Linked DNA regions of Homo sapiens: all the other regions are linked to region 1. The links are contacts of gene promoters, found by promoter capture Hi-C in human tissues and cell types (Jung and others, 2019). All regions are on one chromosome and are shown on one strand. Each heading gives the region's core, a stretch centred on a gene start or on the middle of the fragment in contact. The rest is flanking DNA. Distances are from core to core; before and after follow the strand shown. Region 1 holds the start of ZNF331 (zinc finger protein 331). Region 2 holds the start of VSTM1 (V-set and transmembrane domain containing 1). Region 3 holds the start of CNOT3 (CCR4-NOT transcription complex subunit 3).

Region 1 (3,882 bases), core at 446-2,945:
TACCATTTTAACCTACCCTTTTCCCTTGTTGATTCTTCAGAAGTTTTCTTAATTAATGAGTCAGTATTATTAGGAAATGTACTCTATGTCATTGTATAACAGACCATGGTTTAATCTGATTTTCCTTTATCCTCCACTGCAAGATTTTCATTTTTAAAAATTATTCTCGACTGGGTGTGGTGGCTCACGCCTGTAATTCCTGCACTTTGTGAGGCCGAGGCAGGCGGATCACCTGAGGTCGGGAGTTCGAGTCCAGCCTGACCAACATAGAGAAACCCCGTCTCTTCTAAAAATACAAAAAAAATTAGCCGGGCGTGGTAGCGCATGCCTGTCATCCCAGCTACTGGGGAGGCTGACGCAGGAGAACCCCTTGAACCCAGGAGGCGGAGGTTGCAGTGAGCCGAGATCGCACCATTGCACTTGAGCCTGGGCAACAAGAGCGAAACTCCGTCTCAAAACAAACAAACAAACAAACAAAAAATTATTCTCTGGAAATTCTGGGTAACGTCAGTGGATTACATCAATGTTAATCTTCTGGTTGTGGTATTATATACTACAATCACCAGCTGAGGTAACCAGGTGAAAGGTACACAAGATCTCTCAATTTTATTTCTTGTAACTACATATGAATCTAAAGTCTATCTAATTAAAAGAGAAAAAGATTTTCAGAAAAAAAGCATTTTGTGAACATACTTCAACATTGTGTACAACTATAGCTACTTCCTTGGCATAAATACCAAAAAGTGGGATTTTGAGTCAAAATGAGACTGTGGTTAAGTACCTGCAACATCCTGTAGACCCTGTGACGTTAGTACTTGGAATGAGAGCGGGACTCACGGGGCATAACTGCTACCTGTACATTGTTTACAATGCAGCAAGCAAGGGACACCGAATAGCAGCTCCGGCAGCCTGTGCTAGCGGCCTGCAGAGAATTCCAGGTGACGCTCCAGAGGGGCTAGGAGAGGATACCCTTCTGAGGACAGCCATGGCTCGCCCGGCATCACCCCACTCAAGAGGCCAGACGGGGTCCCAGCTGGGGTGACACAGCTCCTTTCCCAGTCGGGAAGGGGCGTCTGCAGGGACCAGGAAGGGCTTAGCTTGGGGCTGCCCGCTCCGGCACCGACCTGGGACGCGCCCTGAGGCCCCTGCCTGGGACCGTCCCGGACTACATTTCCCAGAGACCATCCAGGAGTACGCCGTGCTGCATGCTGGAACACGGGGCTTGGGGCTCTGGTTTCCCCCGACGGCCCCGCGTCCTCTTCTAGCCTCACCCTCTCCCGAGGCCCCAGCGTTGGGGGACTACCGGGTGCGTCTGCGGCTTTGGGAGAGTGGGAGGAGGGAAAGGGATGGGAGGGGTGCACGCACACGTGTCAGTGTGTCCGCGTGTCAGCATCTGTGCAGGCGCACGTGTGTGTCGGGCTCTGTTGTGTCTGCACATGCGTGTCGGCATCTGTGCGTGCGCACACGCCCGTCAGGGTCTGTGTGCCCGCACAGGCACGTCAACAGCTGAGCACGCTATGTATCGGGGGTCTGTGTACGCTCACATACGTGTCGGGGTCTGGGTACGTGCACATACGTGTAGGGGTCTGTGTGCACATGCGTGTCGGGCTCTGCTGCTGTCTGCGCGCTGCGGCCGCTGGGTGCGCGTGCGCATGCGCGCTGGCCTCCAGGGGGTGGCGGGACCGAGTGTGTGACGCACTTGCGTGGGAGTACGAGGCTGACGCGGCGGCCCTGTCCCCGTAACTGTGACACGGGTGCACGCGAGCGTCATTGGGGGCGATGGGGGCCGTGCTGGGTGCGCGTTTGCACCAGTGACGCAGCCGCTGCATCTCCGCCAGTCCGCGCAGGTGAGATTGGTGCGCGTGGCTCCGAGGGGAGACGGGCACGGGGCTTCTGACGGTGACGCACTTGCTGGAGAGTGTGGGGTGACACAGCCGGGCTCTCCCCATAACTGGTGACCGGGGGTGCTCCAGAGGCTTTGGGTCAACGCAGCCCGTGCCTGTGAACCTCGGCGGTGCGTCCCTGGGACTCTGCTCCGTGAGGTGCGCTCTGGGGGTTGTGCGGGGGCAGCGGTCGGGACGGGTCTCCGTGGCCCACGGATGCACCTCTGCACCGTGTGGGGTGGTGGGGCCCGTAGCATGGCCGTGCTGGGCGTTAGTGGGTATGAGGGGCGCAGATGTGTCTCAGGACAGAGTGAGCTGTGGTGAGGCTGAGCTGTGCAGACTTGTGCTGGGATGGGTGATCGGGCCTTCTGGGTGACGCAGGTGTGTGTGACAACACAACCTGTAGCTTCAGCGTCTCTGTGCTGGGATGGATGATCGGGCCTTCTGAGTGATGCAGGTGTGTGTGACAGTGCAACTTGTAGCTCCAGCGTCTCTGCTGCTTCCCCTGCCTTCACCTCCTAACCAAGCGGTACCTGCCTGAGAACAAGGGCCGCGGAGGGACGTGAGCGCCTGAGCCTCGCCTGGAAATTCACCAGCAAGAAGGCAGAAACAGCCATGAGGTGACGCTTTCAGAGCCAGAAGTGCTGTGCATGCAGGCCACCTGAGTGACAGGGGACGGTGGCCTCAGGAGTAGAATTCCTCCTGTAGAGGGACAGGTCCCTGATGTGGGAGACAGGGAGGGGGGCAGCTCCACGCGTCATCATCTCAATCGCCACAGCGTGCTCTTCAGGAATCTCCCAGAAACTCCATCTCGGGGCCTCGTATTTCTCATTGGTTTTATTAGGTATGGCAGGTGTTACCCTTCCGGTTCTGTTTTCCCCAGGCCAGCATCCTTCAGAAAAAGCATCCCCGAGGAGGAAGACGAATCGTTAAACATCTGAAAGGGTCAGGTGAGTATCCTTTTTTTTTTATATTAAATGATATGTGTTTATAAGACTTAAGACCAAACATTAAAGGTAGATGACCAAGATTTGAGTCCTGTTTCTGCCTCTTAGCTTTTTGAGCCTTCTGAAGATAGGCTTGTGAGGAGGGTGAAATGCATTAACACGCATAAAACCCATAGACGCGCACCCCTGAGTGGGAGTGCACAGTGAGTGCTGCTGTTTTGTGCTAAGTCTGGATGTCTGTACATCAGGAGCAACGTACATATGAAGGTAACTGGGATGGGTGTTTGCAGGTTCACAAAATGAACCACAGCCTCAAATGGCCTAGAACTGTTATCCTTAACCTGAGGGCCTGCCTTTAACTCCACTTACAACTTTCCAAGGGACATTCTGTGTATATTTACTGTATGTGATTATCAGTGTTAGTGTATCTGTCCCCCACCACCACCACCCTAAGGAGATACTCTGTAATTTCATGGCATTAAGAAGGATGGACATGCCCCAAAGACATTTAGACCCATTGGTCTACAATCGAAGGCTGTGTACCTTGACCACAATTATTGTTCAGGATGGTGGAAATGGTTAAGTAATTATACCACGTTCATTTCATGGAATACTCTGCAGCTACAAAGAAGTAAGTTTAGTTATAACCGTAAGAAAGAAAAATGCACCTGACATAATATTAAACACTACTAATAGTTATTAACAATAGTAAATGAAGGAAATGCTTCAGTTGCCTACAAATTCCATTGAATAAGATTTTTGTAAATACCTTATCCAACATGACATTTTAGTATATTATTTAGGATTATTCATGAATCCTTCAAAAGAGAGGAGCCTGGCCACATTTATTGAGCGCATTTTTGTACCATACTCTATTGTGTTTTGCACACACTCCTTAATTTATTCTTACCTTAGTCTGTAACAAAGTACCATAGACCGGTGGCTGAAACCACAAACATTTATTGCTCACAGTTCTGGAGGCTGGAAGTCTGAGAAGAGGGTACCAGCATGGTCAGGTTCTGATGAGGGCCCTTTTCCAGGTTGGAGACTGT
Region 2 (3,938 bases), core at 1-2,500, 530 kb after region 1:
CCAGGAGGTGGAGGTTGCAGTGAGCTGAGATCACACCACTGCACTCCAGCCTGGGAGACAAAGCAAGACTCTGTCAAAAAAAAAAAAAAATGCTCATCTAAGGTGCAAATGTGTGTAGGAGACGAGCATTACCCCACAAGGAAGGGCTGCACCCAGAAAAGGAGGAAGGAACTGAAGCAGACGAAGCACGTCGATGTCCACCGCACCCCCCGTGCACCAGGGAGGAACTGGGGCCTTAGGGAGGTGGAGCTCTGCTGGGTCAAGCCTAGAGTTTCTATGTAGTAAAGCCGAGATTATAACCCAGGTCATCCGTTTCACAGTGTGAGCTCTGTCTGAATACATCAGGTTCAATTGGAGGATGGTTAAAATCAGCCTAAGAATCGAGCTGGTCAGAAAATTGTCTTCTTGGGGCCAGGTGTGGTGGCTCACGCCTGTAATCCCAGCACTTTGGGAGGCTGAGGCGGGCGGATCACCTGAGGTCAGGGGCTCGAGACCAGCCTGACCAACATGGTGAAACCCCGTCTCTACTTAAAATACAAAAGTCAGCCGGGTGTGGTGGCCTGCACCTGTAGTCCCACCTACTCGGGAGGCTGAGGCAGGAGAATCGCTTGAACCTGGGAGACGGAGGTTGCAGTGAGCCCAGATCACGCCATTGCACTCCAGCCTGGGCTACAGAGTGAGACTCTGTCTCATAAATAAATGCATACATACATAAATAAATAAATAAGAGAGAGAGAGAAGAAAATTGTCTTTTTGCCCACAGCCTTGCACCCTGTAGATCCCTAAGCCCAGCCCTCCTCTATTCCGACGGAGGATGATGGCAGTACTGCGGTATTTAGCGGCTGCAGACTCGGAGACCCCACAGCAGCTCTGCCTTTCCCAGCGGAGTCTGTCCCCGTGTCTCTGCAGCGCGGCCTCCTCCTCGCTTGCATGTGGGCGGCAGAACTCACAGAACCCACAGCCCAGACCCACCCACCGCAGGTGTGCAACACCTGGAAGTCATTACTTCCACACACCGCATTTCCACCTGGACTGCCACTCCCACATGAGTTTTTCTCACCAGCCCAAGCCCATTCGTCCCAGTCCTGGAGACTCACCGAGGCAAAGCAGGGAGAGGAATTCTGCGGTCATAGCGTCCCTTCTGCCAGAACCAAGGCCCCGCCTTGGGTTTTACCCTTCAAAGGCGGAGCGGGACTGGGCCGGCCGCAGCTCTCCGGCTGCCCGGTTCGTCCCCAGGATGTGCAGATAGAGGAGGTTTTGCTCTGACACTCTGGTTCTCTGCCCCACTCTTGCAGTTTCCTTCTCACAACCGACTCAGGAAACAAGAAGCCGTCGATGATAACTTCTTCCCCATGAATCCGGTGTGTGTGGCCCCACCCGCCCGAGCTCTGTCCTACCTTATCTGAAGTTCTGCCAAGAGTTTTCTGTAAATGTAATTTTTTATTTTAAAACACTAATACCGGCCGGACGCGGTGGCTCACGCCTGTAATCCCAGCACCTTGAGAGGCTGAGGCGGGCGGATCACCTGAGGTCGGGAGTTCAAGACCAGCCTGACCAAAATGGAGAAACCCCCGTCTCTACTAAAAATACAAAATTAGCCAGGCATGGTGGCGCATGCCTGTAATCCCAGCTACTCCGGAGGCTGAGACAGGAGAATGGCTTGAACCCAGGAGGCGGAGGTTGCTGTGAGCCAAGATTGTGCCACTGCACTCCAGCCTGGACAACAACGGTGAAACTGTCTCAAACAAGCAAACAAACAAACATTAATACCTATAGCTTTATAGCTTCCGTGTACCCACTAGCCAGCTCCCCACAATGTTAACCTTTTTTTGGGGGGCGGGGGGGACAGAGTCTTGCTCTGTCACCCAGGCTGGAGTGCAGTGGCGCGATCTCGGCTCACTGCAACCTCTGCCTCATGGGTTTAAGGATTCTCCTGCCTCAGACTCCCAAGTAGCTGGGATTACAAGCATGCACCACCACACCCAGCTAATTTTTTGTAGAGATGGGATTTCACCATGTGGGCCAGGCTGGTCTTGAACTCCTGGTCTCTAGTGACCCGCCCACCTCAGCCTCCCAAAGTGCTGGGATTACAGGCATAAGCCACTGTGCCCGGCCAATGGTAATCTCTTATAATTACAGTACTTTTTTTTTTTTTTTTTTTTTTTGAGACAGAATCTCTGTCAGCCAGGCTGGAGTGCAGTGGCACAATCTTGGCTCACTGCAACCTCTGCCTCCCGGGTTCAAGCGATTCTCCTGCCTCAGCCTCCCGAGTTGCCGGGATGACAGGTGTCCGCCACCACTCTTGGCTAATTTTTTTTGTTCTTTTTAGTAGAAACGAGGTTTTGCCATGTTGCCCAGGCTGGTCTCGAACTTCTGACCTCAGGCGATCCGCCTGCCTCGGCCTCCCAAACTGCTGGGATTACAGGCGTGAGCCACCACGCCCGGCGTATGGCACATTTTCAAAACCAGAGACTTTGCACTGGCATCACACGTTTAACCAGGTTCCAGAGGTCACTCAGATCTCACCAGTTTGTGCATAATTCGTTTCTCTTTTTCTCTTCCTCTTCCTTCTATTTCTATTTCCTTTTCTCCTTTTCCTTCTTTTCTCCTGCTCTTCCTCCTCTTCCACCTTCTTTTCCTCCTCCCTTTTCTTTGCCTATGGGTATAGTTCTGTAACATTTTATTGCCTGTATGTATGGCTTTATAGAACCACCGCCACAATCAAGACACAGAACTGTCCCACCACCACGTAGGAACTCCCTCATGCTGCCCCTTTATAATCGCTCTCCCACCCTAGCACCTGCTAATCTGTTCTACGTCTCTATCACTTTGTCACTTTGAGACTCTTGTATAAATGGAATCGTCCATCGCCTCACCTTCTGAGGGTGACCTTTTTCACTCAGCACAATGCCTGTGAGATTCATTCAAATGGTTGTGTGTTATGATGATGGATACATTAGCCGGGCGTGGTGGCACACGCCCATAGTCCCAGCTACTCAGGAGGCTGAGGCAGGAGAATCGCTTGAACCCGGGAGGCGGAGGTTGCAGTGAGCTGAGATCACGCCACTGCACTCCAGCCTGGGTCACAGAGCAAGACTCCATCAAAAAAAAAGAATTATCTAATGGATACAATGTGTGTCACTGGGTTAGTGGATACCTGAAAGCCCTAACTTCATCATTTTGGAATCTATCCATGCAATAAAGTTACACTTGTACCCCATAAACGTATACAAATAAAAAATAATCGTCTGGGCATGATGACTTACCGCTGTAATCCCAGCACTTTGGGAGGCTGAGGCGGGATTACAGGTGTGAGCCACCATGCCCGGCCTATACTTTCTATCTTAATAACTACAAAAATAATAACTTGCTGGATGGGTCCCTGTGCCCACCCCGTCCTGTCCTAAGTGAGGAGGATGGGAAGAAAGCCATCGTCCTGTCCTGGTGCGGCTCTCAAACAGCTGGAAATGCTGGCTGCACAGGAAACTCTAAGGATCGGCAGCTCTAGCGCATGCTACCCTTGGCAGCTGTGTGGTCTGTGGATAGAGAAGGACCAACCTGTGGTTAGTGGAGGAAGAGGAGGAATATTGCTTTGATAAGCACATCCTCAGAGTTATAACAGAGGAGACAATAGTTATAAAATAAGAATGATATTTACGAAAAATAATAAGACTATTAACAAGAAACAGCAACAAATCTTGAAAACAAAATGTAACAACAAAACATAAATGTTGACTTTTTTTTTTTTTTTTTTTTTGAGACGGAGTCTCGCTCTGTCGCCCAGGCTGCAGTGCAGTGGTGAGATCTCGGCTCACTGCAACCTCTGCCTCCCGGGTTCCAGCAATTCTCCTGCCTCAGCCTCCTGAGTAGCTGGGATTACAGGCATGCACCACCACGCCCAGCTAATTTTTGTATTTTTAGTAGAGATGGGGTTTCAC
Region 3 (3,690 bases), core at 772-3,271, 600 kb after region 1:
CTGGCCAACATGGTGAAACCCCGTCTCTACTAAAAATACAAAAATTAGTCGGGCGTGGTGGCGGGCGCCTGTAATCCCAGCTACTCGGGAGGCTGAGGCGGGAGAATCACTTGAACCCCGGGAGGCAGAGGCTGCAGTGAGCCTAGATTGTGCCACTGCTCTCCAGCCTGGGGGACAAGAGCAAGTCTTCGTCTCAACAACAACAACAATAACAACAAGTTCCTCAGGTGACTCTGATGTGCAGCCAAGTTGGAAAGTCATCGCTAGATCCGCGGTGTGCAAAGTGAACTGCGGACCGTGGACTGCGGCACTTGTTAGAAAAGCAGAATTTGCATTTTAACACATTCCTAGGTGATTCCGGAGATGTCTGAGAAGCGATACTTTGTCCAGGGGCCACAGTTTGAATAGCAAAGCTCTAGAACAATAACTCTAGGCTTCATTCCCGTTGTCTGTGTGTGGGCCTACGAATATGCATTTTCGCAAGCATTCCTCCTCCCCCTTGCCTCAGACCATTCTGATGCGGGTGGTGCTGAACGGCTCCATCCTCCTTCACGTTCACCTCTCCCTGGGATTTATCTTACTTTCCACCACCTAGACAGGAAGGGGCGAATCTGGCTTCCCATCTCGGTTGTGTGACCCTGGGCAAATGCCTCCCAGTTCGTGGAAGTCTCAGTGTCTAGTTAAGTTTTCAATCACAAGTCATTCCTCACATTCATTCATCTATTCCTTTGACAAATGGTTACTGACTACTTCCTGCGTGCTAAGTGCTGGAGATGCAAAATCCAGACAGGGAAACCGAATAATTACGAAAATGACGGTAGACGTACAAAAATAAATCCTAACGAACAAGGCGCGCAGGAGCGCTCCGCCCGGGAGGGAGGTCAGGGAAGTTTTCTCTCCAAGAAGACAACAGAGCTGAGACCTGAAACGAGCAGGCATTAGGGAGCCACCCGTCTCCTCTGTACCTTCTGCAGCGTCCTCAACACACTAAGGAAGCGGAGACGCAGAGGAGAATGACTGTCCCACCATCTGGTCGCCTAACCAGGCAGGGGCAGGACAAAAACTCCATGCCTCACGCTTCCCAACCAATTCTGCTATGCACGGTGCCAGAGACTTAAAGCAGTGTCTCTGGTCCCTTTCTTCTTTCACTCAGCAAATAATGAATTTCAGAGATGTGCCAACATAGAGGCACTTGGAGAAAGACGAGGCAGCTGAGAGGGAAGCTGCTTACCTGGCCGGGACGCAACGGTTGCGACCAAGTCCCACTTCTGCCAGCTACATACACCCTCTTTCACACGCTCTACGAGCAGCTACCGCCCACTCGCCACGCTATTGGTCCAACTAGCATGAATGATAACTTTTAGGGCCAACGAAGAAAAAGGGGTGGACTTTCTTGCCCAGCTCCTCCCACTTGGCCCTGTGGCTGTTTTGATTGGCAGATGACTTCGGCTCGGCCCCCGCTTTAAAGGCACCTGTCTGTCTCCCATTAGGTACGCGGCCCCTAACGCCCACACTCCATGCCTTCCTCCGCTTTCCCCACCCACTTCCAGGACCAACCAATGACTTCAAGGCAGAATATGCCCCCGCAACCAATTAAAAAGAGCTCTAAACTTGACGGACGACTTCCCGCCCCTGGACTGTCGTAGCTCCTCCCCCAGACCAATTGTTTTAAGAGAGGGGGGCGGATACATCCAATCAGCACGACACAGGTCTCTTGATTGACGTTCGGGTCCTCGCGCTGGCGTGTTGTGCCCTGAGGCGGGAGGAGGAGGAGGAGCGGGGAGGAAAACCTGAGCCAATCCTAGCAGCCTGCGCGGGAGGCCAATCGAACGCCGCGCCTTGGAGCGATCACCCAATCCGCGAAAGGGGGCAGGGCGCATCCCTGCCAGGAACCAATAGAAAGCCTCCAAGGGTCAGGAGCGACGTTCAGCGGGAGCAATGACTGGCCTATATTCGGGACTCGGGGGCGGGTCGGCGCCAGAGACGAGAAGAGAGGAGGGGAGGCCTCCTCCGCCGCCGCCATCTTGGACCGGGCCCGGTCAGCTTCCGCGGAGCCATCGGCAGACGCCGCGGCCTCCCTTGAGCCCCGACCCCCGTCGTCAGAACAACCCCGGGCCCACTCCCCCAACCCCACTTCCGCTTCGCGCCGCTATCGCGATAGCGCCCGGGCCCGGGGCGCGAGAAAAAGGCGGCGGGCGCTCGCCTCCCCCGCCTGTCGCGATACGCTCCTCAGCGGCGGCGCCAGCTCCTGTGGTGAGAGCGTCAGGCTCGACTGGGCCGGACCCCTTCCCTTCCTCCCCCCGGCGCCATCGGCCGCCCTCCCCGCCGCCTCCCGCCCTGGCGACACCGCCGTCTGTCGCGACATGGCCTCCCCTCGCCTGCCCCCTGCCGCCGCCTCTGCAGCGCGGGGCTCCCGGCGGGGGGCGGCTCCCTCCCTCTCGCCCTCCCGTTCCTGCGCCTCTTTCACGTTCCTCAGCGCCTCCCGGGGGTCCTTCCGCGACCCGGACCCCGGGCCCCGCCCGCCGCCGCCTCCCCGCGTGGCATCGCGTCGGGCCCCCCGGTAGGGGTGTGAGGGTGCGAAGCCTCCCGGGCGCGAGGTGCCCGCCCCTCTCCGCGTCGGTATTGGCTCCTGGCTGGAAGGATGGAGGCGCCCCTGGTCCCAGGTGCCCGCCCTCTCGGGGCTCAGGTGCCTGCCCCCCTCGGCCTCGGTCCTTCGCGTTGTGGGGCAGCCTCCGCGCCGGGGCTTCTCCCTCGACGGTGGCGGGGAGGGGGGGTGGTGGTCGGGACGAGGACCCCAGCTGGGTGGGGGAGTCACCCTTCCCAGGACCGAGGCCGCCCTCCGCATCCCTCCTCACTGCTCCCGGGAGCGCAGCCTCCCCTGGATCTCAGGTTCCAGCTGCCCGTCTGTATCGGATGGGAGCCTCTTGGGAGAGGAGTGGAGGAGAAACTCCCCGTTAGTTGGAGCCTTTGCCGAAGTTTCCACCTCTGTAGTCTGCAGCTCTTCCCTCTCATAGCGAGTAGCGCCCTGGGTGGCTCCAGCCTCGCCATCCCGCTGCACTGGGCGCCTGCCTTTTTGGGGGAGTTTGGCTTTCCCCCACCTGGGGTACAGGACCGTCCTCAGTGTGGCCCACGTCTGGTCTCAGCTCTCACACTTCTTTGATCCTGGCGTCTGCCCCTGGCTTTGCAGCCTTGAACTCCCCTGCATCGTGACTCTCCGACCTTCTGGGTGTGGGCGTCTCCCAGTGATATCAGGACCACTGTGGTCTTGTTGCTGGGGGCTGCTGGGATCCCCTGGCGCTCAGGTGCCTGGTGAAAGACACTAAGCCGCCACGCTGTCCATGTTAGTGAGCTCCCACTGCGGGCAGCACCAGCCCCTCTTTCTGAGCAGTCCCTGCCTCTCAGTGCAGGGCGGCCACCCACCCCGGGGTGAGCTCTCCTGTCCTTTTGGTGAGGGGTTTTGATGTCTCCCCTCCCTCCCTTCACCCCTGCCTGAGTATGAGGCTTCTTCCATCTTCACACCAGTCTCCTCCTTTAGGGTGTCAGCTCTCCAAGGACCAAGAAGCCCACTGCCCTTGATATTTGCATCAGATCCCACACTGTGGGTTTGTTGACTTCCCATCTACCCTTACGCTGGGTGTCAGCAGTTGGAGAACAAGGGTTTCGCCTTCTGGCCCCGCTGCTGGTACCCCA

What was found. The method cuts DNA at HindIII sites, captures the fragments that hold promoters and counts their contacts. A contact is called where the count stands out against the background at its distance.
Region 2: the fragment with the promoter of VSTM1 here is called in contact with the fragment with the promoter of ZNF331 in region 1 in 2 of the 25 tissues and cell types used here (lymphoblastoid cells and mesenchymal stem cells).
Region 3: a contact is called between the fragment with the promoter of CNOT3 here and the fragment with the promoter of ZNF331 in region 1, in 3 of the 25 tissues and cell types used here (dorsolateral prefrontal cortex, hippocampus and lymphoblastoid cells).

The regions. Positions count from the first base shown.
Region 1 is chr19:53,536,450-53,540,331 of GRCh38, forward strand. ZNF331 (zinc finger protein 331) reads left to right here and starts at 1,696. Exons shown (of 6, transcript NM_001079906.2): 1 at 1,696-1,847; 2 at 2,767-2,833. RefSeq lists enhancers at 1,424-1,940, 1,726-1,775. The HindIII fragment of the contact is 21,395 bases long and covers 1-2,471 here.
Region 2 is chr19:54,062,647-54,066,584 of GRCh38, forward strand. VSTM1 (V-set and transmembrane domain containing 1) reads right to left here and starts at 1,251. Exons shown (of 9, transcript NM_198481.4): 1 at 1,098-1,251. The coding sequence starts at 1,131. The HindIII fragment of the contact is 40,052 bases long and covers 1-3,938 here.
Region 3 is chr19:54,135,741-54,139,430 of GRCh38, forward strand. CNOT3 (CCR4-NOT transcription complex subunit 3) reads left to right here and starts at 2,022. Exons shown (of 18, transcript NM_014516.4): 1 at 2,022-2,253. The HindIII fragment of the contact is 23,783 bases long and covers 1-3,690 here.